Regions from separate parts of the Homo sapiens genome. Here region 2 is linked to region 1. Evidence: promoter capture Hi-C in human tissues and cell types (Jung and others, 2019). All regions are on one chromosome and are shown on one strand. The core of a region is centred on a gene start or on the middle of the fragment in contact, and the rest is flanking DNA. Distances in the headings are between cores, read along the strand shown.

Evidence for each region. Contacts are between HindIII fragments. The study calls those that stand out against the background at their distance.
Region 2: a fragment that was not itself captured here is called in contact with the fragment with the promoter of SCGB1D4 in region 1 in 4 of the 25 tissues and cell types used here (H1 embryonic stem cells, heart right ventricle, mesenchymal stem cells and 1 more).

What each region holds. Positions count from the first base shown.
Region 1 is chr11:62,297,764-62,300,754 of GRCh38, forward strand. It overlaps SCGB1D4 (secretoglobin family 1D member 4), which reads right to left and starts at 1,312. Exons shown (of 3, transcript NM_206998.2): 1 at 1,193-1,312. The coding sequence starts at 1,247. The HindIII fragment of the contact is 5,452 bases long and covers 1-2,991 here.
Region 2 is chr11:62,227,804-62,230,503 of GRCh38, forward strand. No RefSeq gene overlaps it. Among named protein-coding and RNA genes, the nearest start is that of SCGB1D2, 13 kb to the right of the region's middle. The HindIII fragment of the contact is 5,846 bases long and covers 1-2,700 here.

The sequences.
Region 1 (2,991 bases), core at 62-2,561:
TACCATTATTGTGCTGATGACAATACCAGAAACTCCAGGTGTGACTTTCTCCGGGTCACACAACAAAGGGAAGAGCTTCATATCCTCAGCTAGACTTCTTTTTCTTTTTTTTGAGATAGGTTCACCCAGACTGGAATGCAGTGGCACAATCTCGGCTCACTGCAGCCTGAATGTCTTGGGCTCAAGCGATCCTCCCTCAGCCCCCAAAGTAGCTGAGACTACCAGTGCCTGCCACCATGCCCGCTTTTGTGTGTGTGTGTGTGTGTGTGTGTGTGTGTGTGTGTTTTGTTTTGTTTTTTTTTTTTGTAGAGATGGGGTTTCGCCATGTTGCCCAGGCTGGTGCTGAACTCCTGAGCTCAAGTGATCTGCCCACTGTGGCCTCCCAAAGTGCTAAGATTACAGGAATGAGACACCATGCCTGGCCCACAGCTTGACTCTTGACAACCATAACCTTACTTCATTCTCATAGCCACTCCTGGCAGAAGCTTTAACCACCAGTGATAAGAGGAGGCTCAAGGAGGGTGAGCATTGTGCCCAAGATCAAGGGGTGGGAAGTGTCGAAGCCCAGGTTCACCCCAGACCTCACATTACATCATCTGACACAGATCCCATTCAGAAGTGAAGCTCAGGCAGAAGAATTCCTAACATTTGCCTGAACTGATTTTTCTATAAAACTTCTTAGATACTGGGGATTAGAAGAAATAGCTCTAAGCAGCCAGGCGCAGTAGCTCATGCCTGTTATCCCAGCACTTTAGGAGGCCGAGGCGGGCAGATCATCTGAGGTCGGGAGTTCGAGACCAGCCTGACCAACATGGAGAAACCCCATCTCTACTAAAAATACAAAATTAGCCAGCTGTGGTGGCCCATGCCTGTAATCCCAGCTGCTCAGGAAGGCTGAGGCAGGAGAATCACTTGAACCCCGGAGGCAGAGGTTGCAGTGAGCCAAGATCATGCCACTGCACTCCAGCCTGGGCAACAAGAGCAAAACTTCTCAAAAAAAAAAAAAAAAAAAGGAAGAAGAAAGAAGAAATAGCTCTAACCTTTATGAATCTTATTCAACAAGCACAGAAAAGGGTTTGGAATTTTGTTTGGTTTTGTGCAGACCCCAACCCAAAGCACAAATAGGTGATCTTGTGCTCAGAAGAGGGTGCATCCCAGGGGCTGGTGCTGGACTCATGACTGATGTACTCACCCTGGTAGCAGCAAAGGGCCAGCGAGACCATCAGGAGACACACTGACAGCCTCATGGTGGCTTATTCGGCTGTGAGCTCAGCTTTCACAATGAGTGATTTGGATTCGACTCCAGGAGCCTGTGTAGTCATGGAGGCCAGGGCTATTTGTACCTAGGGAGCCTGGCTGGTCCTACCTACCGGGGCACCTGGTAGGTCATGAGGCCTGGCTCCCAGCCCGCCCTTCCAAGCCAGGGCTGCTGCCGTCCATCAATGTCACCTCCTTAGGAATCTCTGCATCTGAGTGGGGCGGAGCACAAGACAGCAGCCTTGTGAGAACTCTGCTCTGTGCTCCAGGTGAGTGTTCAGGTACATCTGGAAATGTTCCTGGGATCCTCAATTTCCTTATGAGCTTTTGCTGATTAGTTCTTTTTATCTTTGTAGCAGTGCAGGGGCACAGGTGAATTATGGCTTCACAAGGCACAGGAAGCTGGAAGGCTGTGTTCTCTTTATGGGAGAGCAGGGACATAAGGAGACCCTGCTTTGATCCCCCTGCATGTCTGACAACAAGCAGGCTTGTTTCAGTTGCACATTGGGAAAGTCTAATCCTTCCCCTCAGCCCCTTCCATCACCACCATGTTCACTGCATAGGTACTGAAAACATAGTTGAATACATCCCACCTGTAGAAGATATGCTGAGGAAAAACATCTGCTGCACCTGTTCTCTAGCCTGCCTCACTCCCAAACCTGAATCTTGTTTATACGTGCAGTTATATATATGGCCAAGATTCACATTTTCTATCTATAAAAAGCAAGCTTTCTGTGATGTGTAGCCACCCACGTCTTATCTTAGGGCTGATCTGAAGATTAAATAACCTAACTCTTTTTCTCAAGAGCTTTTGGAGTGTTCAGAGCCAATCATACATCAGTGGGGCTCTAGGCTGGGAAGATAATAGAAGGGAAGAGACAGAGGAACAGGGTGGGTGGTCACTTCCCCCTAACCCCTAGGCTCAAGTTTTCCACTTCAAACCTATCTGTGCTGCCTGGGCCAATCCCATTTTTAAGGGAAAGTGAAGGAAGCCCCCAGACAAAGCAATACACACCCGCCTTCCCTCCCATTGCCGTGCCTTCATGTGGTGTGAGTTTAATCACCAGAAATTTTTCTCTTAAATAAACTTACATTTGAGAGGAGTCACAGCCCAGGCCATAGCTTTCCATTCTCAGCTATGTAGTCAAATCACTTGGAGCTTTTAAAACATACTGACCCCACAGGCTTCTCTCTCTGGCGATTTTGATTCAGTAGCATTGGGGTGAATCCCTCCTTTCTGTACTGTTTAAACTGCTCTGGTGTTTCTCACAGACAGCAGGGCTGAGATCCAGCCAGGAAAACCTTTAAGAAGGAAGGGGACCTTACGGGTTTTGTCATCAAAGACACATTGACAGATTTAGTTGAGTCCAAGCTGAGGGCAACAGTGGATCTCACTTTCATCACACAGGATGACGACGGAGTCCCTGAATCAGCCCTGCTGCCACCAAGGAGGGGGAGGGTTGGTGGTGAGGTTTACAGCTATGAGGGTTCAGATCCTCATTTATGGGCTCCTGGACCTTAGGAAAATTATTCAGTTTATGTAACCCCAGTTTTCTCATTTGTCAAAGTAGGCTACTAATGGTGCCTACATCATTGGGTTGATAGATGATCAAATGAGTGTGTTCATGGGTGTGTGTGTGTTTAAAATATACCAAGTTCTGGTACATAGTAGTTCTCAATGTAAACTGCCATTATCTTGTCCCATTTGTCATATATGTCATGGTTTGCCAGTAG
Region 2 (2,700 bases), core at 29-2,528, 70 kb before region 1:
GTTATTGTAAACCACAAAAATAATGAAATTTTCTTGCCAGTGTTATGTGCCTAATTTGGATAAACAACTGGTATCCAAGAGGATATAAGTCTAATGTTAACTAAACATGGACTCATGGAGAAACAGGATGGCCATCTTGTCCTTCCTGAGTCCTTAAAGCTTTTATTATTAAAACTTCTGCATTCCATGACTCATCGTGGAAAAGATATAATGATCCCAATTGAATACATTGGTAAAGTGGCTTACAAATTACTAAAATAATTTATAACCGATGCTTGATCCCATATTCCTGGGAAAACAATTAAAGCTTCAGGTACATTTGGTCGCCTGGTGGGCAACTTAAACATTTTATAAAGGGATTTCATCCCATTTTAATTTTCAGTGCATGTTTTCTGGTTGTATAAAAGCTTTCCCATGCAAGAGGGATGATGTTATAACAGTAGATTATTATGCTACAGTGTATTTTCACCAGGTAAAGAAAGCTTTTTATGGTTTGAATCTCCTGGAAACGTCAGAAAAAGACTATCCTTGCCATCCACACTACAACAAAATTTTGGGGCCTTGGGATTCGGGTTCATGGTCTCACAACTGAGAAGGGGTCCCTCCCCGCTTTTGGAACTGTGCATTCATTGGAACCCTTGAGGAAAAGCTAACCACGGAAACTTCTCCCAAGAAGAAGATGACATCCTTGATGTGAACAGCTTTTCCCAAGTTCACAGATCGAGACTTCTACTATCATGAAACTCTTATCTTTGAATTTTTTTTCTTGCTTATGCCTCTATGAACAATAGAAATGGAAAAGGGGTCTGTTATGCACCCTTATGGGGTATACTCTTATTTGTGAAGGAGTTTGCAGCCAGCCTTATACCTGGGTAATCTTATACTTTGATAGATAAAAGGTGAACGGCCAAGGTAGGTAAGAAACTTTAATGGTACACACGTTGCCTCACAATCATCAAAAACAAAACCTTGGTTCACTCCTCTTAACCCATATCATGGGTTGAAAGAGAACATTGCCAGGAGGCCTTCACACTTCCAGAAGGGTATCATTTGTTTGGTCCTTTTTATGTGGTTTAAAGTAAAAGAGACAATGATTAGAAATGTATCCCTCATGATAGGTTCCATAGCAAACTTTACTGTATAGGCCACACTTACACAACAGACTTTAAATTCTCTTCTGAAAGTTATGCTAAATAATAGAATTAGCTAACCAGAAAAGTACCTGTGCAGCTGCTGGCAATTTTGGCCTATGGGGAATTACATCAAATGAAGATTAGAGAAATTCAGTGGTAGGGGATTGATGAAGAAATTGCTTAGTCAAGAGAGTAAACTTTATCTAGCTCATTATTTGATCTATTTAATTTGAAGTGGTTTGGTTTATGGAGACCTTGGGTGAGGAGCATACTGCAAACTCTTGGTATTATCCTCCCAGTAGTCTCTCTGGTGCACTGTATTCTCTCAAAGGTTTTAAATACTTTTACTCAGCCATCTCTAGAATGTCATATGGTCTCCCTTCAACTGGAATAACAGGGGCTAAAAGAAATGTGCGACCATGAGGACCCTGTAACCTATAAATGATGTGCTGAGACCAGAAACCCAAAATAATGGTAACTGAGAGTGGCGTTAAGCCCCTAAGTTTGTGTCACACTCTCACCTAAGTGAGAACTTGTCCATAAAGGGGGAATTTTAAAAACAAAATTCTAGGGCGGTCATTGTTTTGGACTAAGGTCATGCACTAGGCCCCAACAAACCAAACCAAACCAAAATGGAGTTGCTTGTGCTAAGACTTTAAGGAAACACATAGATTCTAGAACAGACCAGGTTTTGTTTTTTCTCTTGCAAATCTCTATAATGAAAATTTCTAAGAGCGGAGGTATCTGCCCCCTGAAGTTCCCATTAAATCTTTTAACCAAATTCATTTCCTCTTGCCTAGAGACCTTCAAGCTTCAGATAATCATGCAACAAAGGTTCCAGCCAATTCCAGGTGAAGACACCGCCCCAATGCCATCAAGAAGCTACTCCACCTCCACTAGACAGAACAGGGTGAGAGTTCCATGATCCCCAAGTCAACATGAAGCAGTTACAGAAAAAAGACCATCAGTCCCTCTGCCTCCCATAAAGACTTATGGAGATCACATCCCTCACGGGGGAGATGATGCAGAAAAATAGGTTCTGGAGGCAGAGAACATAAGGCCAATTCACACTTCAGCTATGAGAGGAAATATCCTCTCCATAGGGCGTAGGCCAACTCAATGACTTTGTCATTTTACTTCATCCTCTCCATTTACATAGGGCTTACCCCAAGTAACCAATGGAATCCTCTAGCAGGTATTTAAACTCCCAAAAATTCTGTAGTGGGGCCTTTGAGCCCCTATGCTCGGGCCCACTCCCACGCTGTGGAACATACTTTCATTTTCAGTAAATCCCTTCATTCCTTGCTTGCTTTATTTGTGCGTTTTGTCCAATTCTTCATTCAAGATGCCAAGAACCTGGACACCCTCCACCATTAACAATGCCTGTAATACCAGCACTTTGGGAGGCTGAGGTGAGTGGATCGTGTGAGCCCAGGAGTTCCAGACCAGCCTGGACAACATGGCAAACCCCATCTCTACAAAAAGTACAAAAATTAGCTGGGCATGGTGGTGCATGTCTGTAGTCTCAGCTACTCAGAAGGCTGAAGCAAGAGGATCACCTGAGCCA